3 separate regions of the Homo sapiens genome follow, and regions 1 and 3 are each linked to region 2. Evidence: promoter capture Hi-C in human tissues and cell types (Jung and others, 2019). All regions are on one chromosome and are shown on one strand. Each heading gives the region's core, a stretch centred on a gene start or on the middle of the fragment in contact. The rest is flanking DNA. Distances are from core to core; before and after follow the strand shown.

Region 1 (4,085 bases), core at 1,317-3,816, 490 kb before region 2:
TTGATTGGGCCCCTCTACCGTGTGATATCACTAGAGCTTCCTTCAGAAATTTGTTTTAAAAGACAGAGAGGGCGCTTTTAAAAAAATGCATAATGGGTCGGGCACAGTGGCTCATGCTTGTAATCCCAACACTTGGGGAGGCTGTGGGAGGATCATTTGAGGCCAGGAGTTCGAGACCAGCCTGGGCAATATTGGAAGACCCAGTCTCTACAAAAAATTAAAAAAAAATTAGCCTCAAATGGTGATGACTGCCTGTAGCACCAGCTACTCAGGAGACTGAGGTGGGAGAATCACTTGAGCCCAGGAGGTTGAGCCTGCAGTGAGCTATGATTATGCCACTGCACTCCAGCCTGGGTGACAGAGCGAGATCATGTCTCAAAAATAAATAAATAAATAAATAAATAAATAAAAATGTAAGGGACCTAACATCCATTAATCACCTATCCCTCTGTGCCCAGAAGCTGGGCTGGATGTCCCCTGGAACCTGAATACATTCTCCCTGCCCTCTGGGGTTCAGGTATGGAATAACATCCCTGTTTAGCAGTCAAGAAAAGCAAGGCTCAGAGAGGAGAGGGCTTTGGGCAGTCAAGAATTCCCAGCCAGTGGAGGAGCTGGGTCTGATTCTGAGTCTTCTAGCTCCTTGCTGCCAGGAGTGGCCAACGTTGGAAATTCAGGCAGCAGTGAGATGAGAAAGTAATTTTGGATGTGGTGTCTTCTCAAGCCATAGGCAAAAGAGAACTCCTTCCAGATTAAATTTGGGGAAGGACTGCCTGGGGGTGCTTTTGTACTGGTTGGTTTTCTGTGTAGAGAGTTCATGCAGCCGCGGGTCTGTACTGATTGGAGCTGAAGTCCCAGGTTAGCACCACCAACAGGGGCTCCCCTGCCACAGCGCAGGAGTGGGGGCCCAGGATGGGTCCAGGCAAAGGCATCAGTGATACTTTCTCATGGTCTGACCGACACCCACAGAATCACACAATGTTAGCCCCTCCCAAGAGATGTCCTTTCTATACGGAGTGGGGGCTGGAGGAACCAGGAGCCTCAAAGCTTTGCTTTCACCTTTGTTTTGCTCTTTTGGGATCTGCCTCCTTATCTGGAGCAGGGTCTTGTGAAGAGACGCAGGGAAAAGTTCACTTTCCACCTCCCAGGGGAGCAGGCAGGAGGGGACTAGTTAGGAGGCAAAAGATGTAGAGAAGTATTTGCTTTTTTCATGGGCTATTTTTAGGAGATAAAGTCAACTGCCTTAAGTGATCAATTGTAATAGAGGGAGATGTTGAAGATGACTTAAAAAACAAACAAAATCCGCAAACAACAAATCTAATATTTATGAAATACCAAATGTCAGGAAGGTACTATTTTAAGTGCTTGAAGTAAATTGTCTCATTTAAGCCTCATAATAACGCTATGGAACAGTGTTATCATGTCTGTTTTACAGATGAGGAACTAAGGCACAGAGAGGTTAAGTGACGTGTTCTGGGTTGCACAGCTCTTAAACAGCAGATCTGGGATTTGCACTCCAGCAGTCTGACTCCAGATCTCAATATTGTATAGCAGCTCAAGGGTGGCAGAGACTCAAGAATGTTAGGAGAGGGAAGCTTGAGTCTACAGGTGTAAGGAGACCCCTTGACATCTTCCCCATTTAGTTCAATTAAAATTTTCTTTTTTTTTCTTTTTCTTTCTTTCCTTCCTTCTCTCTTTTCTTTTCTTTTTCTCTCTCTCTTTCTTCCTTCCTTTCTTTTTATTTTTCAGGGTTTCACTGTGTCACCCAGGCTGGAGTGCAGTGGTGCAATCATGGCTCACTGCAACCTCTGCCTCCCAGGCTCAAGTGATCCTCCTACCTCAGTCTCCTGAGTAGCTGGGACTACAGGTGTGGGCCACCACACCCAGCTTTTTTTTTTTTTTTTTTTTTTTTTTTTTGTATTTTTTGTAGAGATGGAGTTTTACCATCTTTTCCAGGCTGGTCTCAAACTCCTGGGCTCAAGCTATCCTCCAGCCTTGGCCTCCCAAAGTGCTGGAATTACCAGTGTGAGCCTCCACACCCAGCCTCAATTACAATTGGTGGCCACCTTCTGTGTGCCCAATTCAGCTAGAAGCACTGGGGGATGGAAGCAAGGCTGGAGTTCTGGTACCCCTCAAGCTTATTGTCTATTTTTGGGAGACAAGGTAGTTGGGAAAGGAATAAATAATTTCAGTCTGAGCAAGGTGAAGCTTGGAAATGATTGGTGAGGATGGTGTGGAGGCAGGGAGAGAGTGGGGCTGGAGTGATTAGTAAGGCCTTGAAAGATAGACACCACTGTATTTTCCAAGTTATTTACAGAATGTTTCCATGTATTCTATACTTCTTAAATATCATCTCAACCCTGTATGGTTGATGTCCCTACATATACACTTATGTGTTTCCTGTAGACTTAGTACTCTTAGGGTTGTGACACAATTTAACTTAAGTTAACAAGGATATTTATTGGCTTAGGTAACTAAAGAACAACCCAGGGATTCCAGAGCTTCAGGCATGACTGGATCCAGGGGCTCCAAGGATGTCATCAGGACTCTATCTCTTTCCATTCTTCGGCTTTTCTTGTGTTAACTTCATTTACAGGCATGCTGTCACCAAGTGGTAGCAAAGCTAGTGGTCAAAGACAGTAGCTGTAAACTGCCATCCTTAATGGATTGAGAGCATTTTTCCCCAGTTCCAGCCAAAATCCCAGGGCTGGTTCTCATGGGCTCAGTTTGGATTAAATGGTCATTGCTGACCCAATCAATCACTGAACCCAGGGAGAAGGAATATATCAACTGGCCATGTGGGGGTCACCTGCCTCATACCAGGAACGAGAGGGTGCGATCAGCCCTGTCCAAACCATGTGGATTGAGAGTGGGGAGTTTTGGTTTCTCAGAAGAAAACTGAGGTGGTATTCCCAGAAGATGGGGGAAAGGAGGCTGGGAGGGTACTACTCAGCTGTGGGAGACCACGTGCTTTGGGAAACTTTGGGTAAAGTGTGCTGAGATGTTGAATAGGAGGAGGGCACGGTAAATGACTGTGGATGAGTTGCAGGAAAATGTAGATTTTTAGCCACTGAGCTTGGGGGTCTCCATCTATGATCCACTGTCAAAAAAGATCCTTCGTGAACCCCCTCAATAGGAGATGGGAACCACTGAGGGATTTCAGGGAACAGGCCAGAACTGTATTCTAGAAAATCCTTTTGGTAGACAATAAGGAGGGCAGATGGTAAGGAGGCTGGGCAGTGTGGTTCAGAGGAGAAAGCGGGGTTTGGATAATGCAGAAAGACATTCCTTGGCTGGGCCCCGTGGCTCATGCCAGCATTTTGAGAGGCTGAGGTGGGTGGATCACAAGGTCAGGAGTTTGAGACCAGCCTGGCCAACATAGTGAAACCCTGTCTCTACTAAAAATACAAAAATTAGCTGGGTGTGGTGGCACGTGCCTATAGTCCCAGCTACTCCGGAGGCTGAGGCAGGAGGATCGTTTGAACCTGGGAGGCGGAGGTTGCAGGGAGCCGAGATGGTGCCACTGCACTCCAGCCTGGGCGACAGAGAGAGACTCCATCTTAAAAAAAAAAAAAAAAAAAAAAAAAGGTGTTCCTTCATGAGCCTGGGCCTGTAAGGGTGGGGTGAAGCGATTCTAAGGGGTCTGTGGGAAATGTGGTCTGGCCATGGCAGGCTCAGCTGGCACGATGTCATCTGGGTATCCAGGACTCAGTGAGCAGCCTTACCACCGCCCTACCCCTTTCTGTAAGGCTGGGAAGCTAGAATTTCTTCTTTGGTCAGGAAAAGTGGGCTGGGCTTTGCTTTGAGAAACACTGCTATCTGGTGTTGCCTTTTTGCAATGTCAGCCTGTGGTTATATTTCCTTTGTTGTTGCTAAGGCAAGATTTGCTCACTCATTGTTCAGTGGCACATCACTTCCTGAGTTGCTGTGTGCCAGGCCCTGTGCTTGGTGATGGGATACAGCAGGGAACATGACAAATGAGGACCCTATTGTTGTGGAGCTGACACTCTAATGGAGGAGGCAGACACTACGAGAATAACCACAGATGTACTGAGTTTGTGATCCTGGGCCTATGCGAGGGGTGATGA
Region 2 (3,760 bases), core at 646-3,145:
CAGCCTTGTCATTTGCTAGCTGTGGGACCGCAGGCAAGTGCCTTGATTTCTCTATGTCTGTGGATAATGATGGTATCTACCTCAAAGCTATGTAAAGAATTAAGGAAACAATAGCCCAACACCACACCTGCAGGAAGGAAGCAAGTTTATTATTACTCAATAAACATTGGTGGATCCTGATGACATTCTCTCAGTCAGCTTTAGCAGTCTTAAGAGACTGCAGAGGATGGAGAACCCAAGGTTAGAGCCAGATTTCTTCTCTACCCAGTTCCTCGGGGCCAAAACCCTGACACCATGCTTAACTCCTCTTTTATACGCCATAGTCCGTCAGCAAACCTTGTCTTCAGTATGCGTCCAGGAGTCCAACCATTCCTGCCACCTCCACCGTATTACTTTCATCCAGACTGCCATCAGCTGTCACCTAGATTATTGCAAAAGCCTCCTTGCTGGCTTTGGGGCTTCCATCCTCTCTCTCTCGCCAATCCCCAGTCAACTCCCAACAGGCAGCAAAGCTTAGGTTACTTCTCAGTTCAAAACCCTTCTAGGTGTGCTAGAATTAACTGATTTATTTACTCAATGATTATTTATTATTGAGTGTCTACTATGTGCCAGGTACTGTTGTAGGCATTGCAGATAAAATGGAGAACAAAACAGACAAAAATTTCTGCATTCATGAAGCTTCCGTTCTCATGGAGGGAGATGGTTAACAAACAAGTGTATGAGTAAAACATATGGTAGGTTAGGTGTCATGTGGAAAAATAGTTTAGGGAAGGCGGGGGGCCTTGGATTTTAAGTAGGGTGGTCAAGGAGGTCTAACACACAAGATAAGGGTTAAATAAAAGGCCAAACGTAGGAGAGGTGGGAGCCAAAGAGCTACCCAGAAGAAGAGCATTCTAGATAAAGGCTCAGTAAGTGCAACGGTGGAAGTATTCCTGGTGAGTCTGGGACAATAGTGGAAAGTCAAAGTGTGTGGGAGGGGAGATATAGAGCCCCATGCCCCCCTCCCACACACTTCAGAGGGGAAAAGGGGGCAGGATTGAGTCCTGTACATTCCCCACGTTTTTTTTTTCTCTGGAGATTGGAAGCCATTGGAGGGTCTAAGCAGAGGAGTGATGAGTTAAGCTGCTGTGTGGAAGTCCGTAAGGAACAGGGGTGAGTCAGAGACCCTGAATGGAGCCGTTGCAATTATCCAGATGAGATAGAGTGCCTTGGATCAGGAAGGGAGGTAGCAACAGAAGCGGCCAATAAAGTTCAAAGTCCTCAGCCCCAGTCCTCCCGATGGGGGTCTCACCTACCCCTCTCACCTCACCTTGTTCCTCCCTGCATCCCCACCCCACCGGTCACTGCTAGGCACATAGAAGCATCTACTAAGCATGTGGTGAATCAATGAACCCCTTAATGAATGGTCCACCCCTAGATCATCAGCATCCTTTTTAACGCTAGGCATATAGTCTGAACTCAACACATGTTTACAGATGGAATGCTGCACAGTCCTGCCAAGTCCAGGCGGTTATTCCTCTCCACAGCCGAAGGAAACTAAGGCTCGGGTGGGGAAGTGTCCCCCTGGGGTCTCTCCGCTTAGGCTGCAGGCTGGGCATCCTTTTTCAAACTCTTTTAGCACAGCGAAGTCGAGGGCACTGGGTGGAGGGTGCTTGCTTGCCCTCAGGGTGAGTCACAGTGACCTCAGAGGAGTTTCCCCAAAACGTCCCCGCCCTGTGATGGGGAAAAGCCGGAATCTCTCGGTCCCAGGTGGTCATGTGGCCCAGGCCGGACAAGCGTCCCGAAAGCCCCGGGAGAGACTAAGAAGCAATCCTCCCACGCGCTTTCTCCCACCCTCGGGCCACTGAGACGGAGGGACAGAGGGCCGCCCTCGCGCGGCCGAGGCCCCGCCTCCCGCTCGCCCGCCCGCGCCTCCAGCGGAAGCCGGAAGCAAAAGCGGGTCCTGCTAGCCCCGCGGCTCCGAACTCGGTGGTCCTGGAAGCTCCGCAGGATGGGGGAGAAGATGGCGGAAGAGGAGTGAGTGGGCTTTTTCCCGGGCGGCGGAGGCGGCGGGGCTGGGCCCCGGCGGGTGACAGCGAGCGCCTCAGGCCGCCCTCCGGCCCCGGAAGGCGGAGCTTCTTTTGCTGGTTGGCCAGGACTGACCAAGCCGGTGCCTACGAGGAGGGCGGGATGGGCGGGCCTGGGCCCAGGTGGGCCTTGCTTTCCCCTGGAGATCGGTCCCTCGAGCTGGGAATCTACTGCCCAGCGCAGGCCCGGAGAGCTGTCTTGCGGAAAATACAAACCATATTTACTTTCCCAGTTTTCGGTAATCTCATGGTTACTGAGCCCTCTTCCGCCTCCTCCAGGAAGTCGTCCGGGTTCTCCACACCCACCTCCTACGTAGCCAGTCGCCTCCTGTATAACGATCAGTTTTCATGTCTTTCTCCTTCACTAAGTTTCATTTAGTCATTAACTGTTAGCCATCTACTCAATTCCAGGCCCTGGGCAGGTGGTAGGAAAGGAGGCCGACCAGGAGCCGCTCTCTGGGAGCTTCCATTCTAGTGGGAAAAGAAGACCATAATTAGTCAAGGTGGTTTCAGATCGTGATTAATTAACGTTATTTGTGCCTAGTGTTCCATTATTGGAACGCTAAGCATGTGGGAGTTATTTATATCCTACTGCTCAAGGTCATCGCCAAGGTCTGATTTTTCTCACGTCTGCAGTTCTAAAAATTGCAACCTCTGGCATGAATGGGTTAAGTGTTCTGAAGGAAGCAAAATAGAGTTAAGGTTGGGGAGTCCACTCAGGAAAAAGTGACATTCAGCAGAAACTTGAATGACCAGAATGAGGGATAGGAGAAATAACATCAGGTTCAAAAGGCCTGGCTCAAGAAAGAGTTTAGTGCTTTTGAGTGACAGGCAGCATGGCTGGTGTGTAGAGAGGAAGGGGGTTAGCTGGACAAGGGGAGATGGGGAAGGACGGGCTGTGTCCTCCAGGTACTTTTGGGCAAGTCCAAAAGTCATCTCCATACCTGCAGGGCAGAGTCTGTTGCAGATTGTAGATGCCCTATCACTGTTTGTGGAATGAGTATGTGAAGATGAATAAGGAACCCCTTCATTGATACTGGAGTCCTTCACCTGATAACTTTTCAAATATATTTCTTGGCCATGTGGGGGTCATTTCATGTAATCAGTTATTTATTGAGCAGCTGCTCCATCCCAGACACTAAACAGCCTCAGCAGCACAAAATAAAAGAGGCAATATAGCCCAGCGATTTCAAGTTTGGGTTTTCAGCTTGATTCTGCCACTAACTGAGATGTTGGTGAAGTTTTGCAACCTCCCTGAGCCTTAGTTATGCATGAGTAAAAAACGGAAAGTAATCATACCCAATCAGACATGTTATACCTATTAAATGAGAGGTAGTGTGTTACCTAGTTCCTGGAATAAAGCAGTGCTCAGAAAATAATAACTTTTGTAGTCACAGTAACAGTTATTATAGCAATATTGTACTAGTTCACAATCCCAGCACAGTGTGAAAGAGCTGTGGGAACATACGCAGTGGAGTGGGTAAATTCGGGTGTGGTAAGATGGGGTAATAGGAGGTGACATTTGAGCCGTTTGAAATCTGAGAGGGATTTTGTAAAGTAGGGTAGGGCATGCCCAGATCAACAACTGGGCAAATTGAGGTGGCTTCTTCAACTTGCAGAAATAATGCCAGGAAAATAATGTAAATTGGAGAAACAAAGGTGCTAAGTAAACAGTGTTGGACCTTGGAAAGTGA
Region 3 (4,226 bases), core at 1,559-4,058, 330 kb before region 2:
GACCTTAGGCAAGTTACTTAACCTCTTTCAGCCTCACTGTTTGCGAAAGGTGGGATAATAACAGAGCTGCGTTGTTACACTCCATACACAGTAGGTGTTTGATCATTGGCAGCCAGGATTTCTATTCTGAGGGCCAGTGAGCCTGCCTCCCTCCCCATTTCAGCTCTGGCTACAGAAAATCCTAGATGGTCCATCTGCCAGGAATGTGAGCTGGCAGCCCCAGACTGGGATCATGGAGAGGTCACAAGGCTGTCCCTGCTAGCGGATTAACCCAAGGGAGAGGAGAGGTTCTTTATTCCCAAACAGCACCTCTTGCAAGCCCCGGTGCTTGGGTCTTGCTGCCAGACCAAAACATGGCCCTGTGCCTGCTTCTTCTCTGGGAGGGCAAATTGTCCAGTTCCCTGTACCTTGTTCTCATGTCTTAGGGATGGGACAGGGAGGGAGAGTCACATTTGGGCCTAAATGGGATGTGCAGTGGGAGAACCTGTGTCATGCCTGGAAATAGCAAAATAAGTCTGTTGATCCTAAGCTGATTAAGGGTGAGTGACTCTGTCTTAGGAGGAGGCTTTTTGGACACAAAATTGGGGGCGGGATTATGGAGAGAGACAGCCCACAGCCTCAGAGGAGGAAGCCAGGCCCAGGAGCCTCTACATCCTTGTTAGGGCCAACAGGGAAACGAAAAAAACACGTGGGGGCTCCCTCCACCCTCTTACCAGCCACCCCTTCTCCATCCACTCTCAGGGGCCTCTCCTTGGGTGGCTAGATCTGGAGGAAGGACCCCACGGAGTCTCCCTTCAGACTGGGACCTGCAGGTGGGCCTTCAGTGAGAACTGAGCCGGAGACCCCACAATGAAAGGCTGGGCTGGACAGGAGTCAGCCCTAGCTAGTAAGATATGGCTGGATATTTAGGCTTCCTCCTCTCCTCTTTCTTTTACCACAAATCTACTTACCTGACCCCTTTTTTTAGGCCCCACACTCAGTTACATTCTCCCCATGTTTCCCAAGTTGGTCTTGCTGGATTTCAACATCAACATCTCTCTTTTCTGGGTTCTCCGTGAACCTCACAGAACCTCTTTTATAGCCTTGCACACACTGTTTTGTCATTTGCTCCCAGCACCCAGCACTTCGGGCACATGAAGACAGGCCCCATCTTTCCCAGGCAACCCCAAATCCCAGCCTGACGTAGAGAAGTTGCTGATCAACCAGTGCCCTCCTGCCCTGCCTTGGCTCCCACCCCAAGCCTTCCTCAGTCCCCTACAGCCCCTGCCATTACCCAGCAGCACCAAAGACTCTCTGGCCCACTCTTTGTGTTCAAACTCATTCCTGCCTCCTCCTCCTCCTCCTCCTTTATTTTTCACATTGCCTCATTTTTCTCTCCTATTTTGAAATTTACATCTTGTTCCAAGAGCTGAAACATCTTTACAAGCTGCACCAAACCATTCTGGAAATAAACTCACCAAATAAATAAGTAACCAGGGGGTGACCCCTCACCCGCAAGCATCCACAACCAACTGCATGTGTCGTGTGGGTCCACACCCACCCCTCGGGGTCCCTTCTTACTTATGTTTAAACTATCTGACAGTATCTCAATGTCCTGTAAGCATGTCTGTAAGCTGCTTTTTTCCCTTGCTGGGGCAGAGTGAGGTTATAAATATGGAGATATTAAAATCACAGGGTGATCCAATCCAGCCTAGGTCTGGGACTTCACAGGGAAGCAAACCCTACTCCACCCCAGCAAGCCACTGTTGTCTCTCTGTGCTCTCTCTCTTATTCGTCAGTGTCCATCTTCTTGCTGTGGCTTTTTATGGGTCCCTGTGAAACCTCTCCAACCAAGTAGGGGTATAACGTCTTGGATAATAAAAAGATGGAGTGACCAGTGCCACATGGGAAAAGTCTGAGGGGGTTGGTCCTCACCTCTGGGGACTCAGTCCTAGCCCCTCCCCATTACTAATCTTCATCGTTGGGAACAAAGCCAGAGTCCTCCAGCAGTGGTCCTCAATATGGGGATGCAAGCAGATCCCCCCAGACCAGCAGCCCCCAGATCCCAGACTCACCTTGGCAGCCACAGAGGAATTGGGCTTCTCCAGTAGGTCCCAGAGTTTTTTCCTCTTCTCTGCGCAGCACGTGTTATCGAACTCCTCGCCTTCCCGCTCCCGTAGGGTCTCGGCCTCACGCTTGAGCTCCTCGTTCATCTGCTCTTTCTTCTGGTGGTAGCGGGCCTGGCAGCAGGACTCCAGGTAGATCTCGTCGATGCCCCAGTAGTCGAGCTCTTGGCTGAAGCTGAGCGCGCACATCTCCTCCATCATGTGCAGTCGCCCAGTGCGGTAGAAGTTGAGGATGGAGGTGAAGGCGCCCGGGTGGCGGTCAAAGAAGTACTCGTTGTCGTCGAGGCTGTAGTCATCGCACACCTCGAGCAGCGAGTCGTGCGTGTTGCAGTCGCGGAGCTTGCCCAGCCGCGTGCGGGGCAGGCGGTCCAGGGTACGCCAGAGTACCTCGTGCGCCAGCCCCCCGACGTTGAGGCGGACCCGCCGAGAGCACGCCTTGCTGCGCACGATCTCCATGGGCTCGGGCGGCAGCGAGCTGGTGGAGCGGGAGCCATGCTTCGTCATGCCCGCCGGCATCGCTGATCCGGCCGCCCCCGCCCCCCCTGCCCCCCCAGGCCGCTGTCACTCGACGGCAAGGCCCGCTGCTGCGGGGGAGGGGGGCAGGGAGCGCTGTGGGCTGCTGGGGGTGCAGGGGGCCCCGCGGGCGCGCGTCACGGCCGTCTTCTCACCTCCATCCCGACGGCTGCGAGGCAGAAAGCGAAAGCGGACGCGGGTCAGCAAACGGGGAGCTGGGCATGCTGTCCCCCCGCCCCCCACCTCTCCACCAGGCTCCCAGCCGGCCTTGACCTTCCCCCGCGCTTAAGCGGCTCAGTGGGGTAGGACGGATGGTCGCTGTCCCTCCCGCCGGTGCTGAAGTCCGCCGCACCCCATGGATGGAGGGAGGGGCCGCCCCTCGGGGCGGGGAGAGGGCCCCAAGAGATGCCCCTGGAGCCCGGGAGGCCCCACCCTGGGCTTCTGCGGCCCAGGCGCGACCCAGCCGCCCGGGGCGCTGTCCGCCCCTTAGAGTGCTGAAACTCTCTTCATTATGGGTCTCCCGATCGAGTCCCGAACCTGGCCCCGCCATGGGGAGAGAGGGGGAGCTGCATGAAAACTTTCTTTCTTTATCTTTTTCTTTCTTTCTTCTTCTTCTTTCCTTCTTTTTTTTTTTTTTAACGAGTTCTCTTCTTTTCCTTCCCCTTCTCGAGATAATCAAGATTTTGGGGGTGGGGGAATGGCAGCGGGCTTTTTTCCAAATCTTAAAAGATTTGGGGGAATTCCGGGGGTTCCAGGTGCCCACCTGTCCGAGGTCACAACAGACGGGGTGTGCACAACAGCCCCTCTGTCCTGGAGCGACCCCTCTTCCCAAACACTGGAGCATCTCCTGAGATTGCTCCAGCGACAAGGTGAGCCGCGAGGAGGAAAAGCCCGCTCTCGCCTCTCCCTCTGAGCCCCCAACCCTACCGCAGGAGGGGCGGGCAGAGTCCTCGGGATCCGCCTGCTCCGTCCTCCCCTCGCTCCTTCCCCGCCCCCTTCTCCTCCTTCTCCTCCCCCTCCTCTTCCTTCTCCCCCTCCTCCTCCTCTTCCTCCTCCTCCTCCTCCTCCTCCTACTCCTCCTCCTCGTTCCTCTCCCGCGATGGCTTTTTATAACTCCGGGTTCTGCGCCTTTCCCCGGGCTTGGAAGGGAAGGGGTGGGGGAGGTGGGAGGCGGGGAAATGAGCTAAATTTTCTGGCCTTTTCAAAAGGTGCCATCCTCCTACCGCGCACTAGTGATTTCGGGGGGTTCCCCTGAGCACCCCCTGCATGTAGGGCTCACGCCTTAGCCCCAGAATGGGGATTGCGCGTCCCCTCAGGCCTCAGCCCTTGCCTGCCTCCCACCCCGCTCCCCTCCAGCCTGGAGCTGCGGAGCCCGAGCAGACCAACAGGCCGAGCTGCGGCAGGCAAACCCCCTGTCCGTGTCCCCATGCACCCCCACGGAAGGCCGTACGCCCCAACACTCACCCCCAGGGCGGCCGCCTCCTGGGGCCAGGGACCGCGCATCGTCCCGGCCGCCCGGGCGCCCCCGCCCGTGGGCAGCGGCGGTCCCGGGGCCGGGCTGAGCCGGGCCTACCCCGGCCGGGCAGGCAACTCGCCCGGGCTGCAGGC

What was found. The method cuts DNA at HindIII sites, captures the fragments that hold promoters and counts their contacts. A contact is called where the count stands out against the background at its distance.
Region 1: a contact is called between a fragment that was not itself captured here and the fragment with the promoter of SLC9A8 in region 2, in 4 of the 25 tissues and cell types used here (aorta, hippocampus, lymphoblastoid cells and 1 more).
Region 3: the fragment with the promoter of KCNB1 here is called in contact with the fragment with the promoter of SLC9A8 in region 2 in 4 of the 25 tissues and cell types used here (IMR-90 fibroblasts, aorta, liver and 1 more).

Annotation. Positions count from the first base shown.
Region 1 is chr20:49,320,061-49,324,145 of GRCh38, forward strand. No RefSeq gene overlaps it. Among named protein-coding and RNA genes, the nearest start is that of SNORD12, 41 kb to the left of the region's middle. RefSeq lists an enhancer at 3,668-4,085. The HindIII fragment of the contact is 6,734 bases long and covers 1-4,085 here.
Region 2 is chr20:49,810,933-49,814,692 of GRCh38, forward strand. SLC9A8 (solute carrier family 9 member A8) reads left to right here and starts at 1,896. Exons shown (of 16, transcript NM_015266.3): 1 at 1,896-2,016. The coding sequence starts at 1,991. RefSeq lists an enhancer at 1,575-1,714 and a silencer at 1,865-2,144. The HindIII fragment of the contact is 14,619 bases long and covers 1-3,760 here.
Region 3 is chr20:49,479,860-49,484,085 of GRCh38, forward strand. It overlaps KCNB1 (potassium voltage-gated channel subfamily B member 1), which reads right to left and starts at 2,809. Exons shown (of 2, transcript NM_004975.4): 1 at 2,055-2,809. The coding sequence starts at 2,621. The HindIII fragment of the contact is 16,129 bases long and covers 1-4,226 here.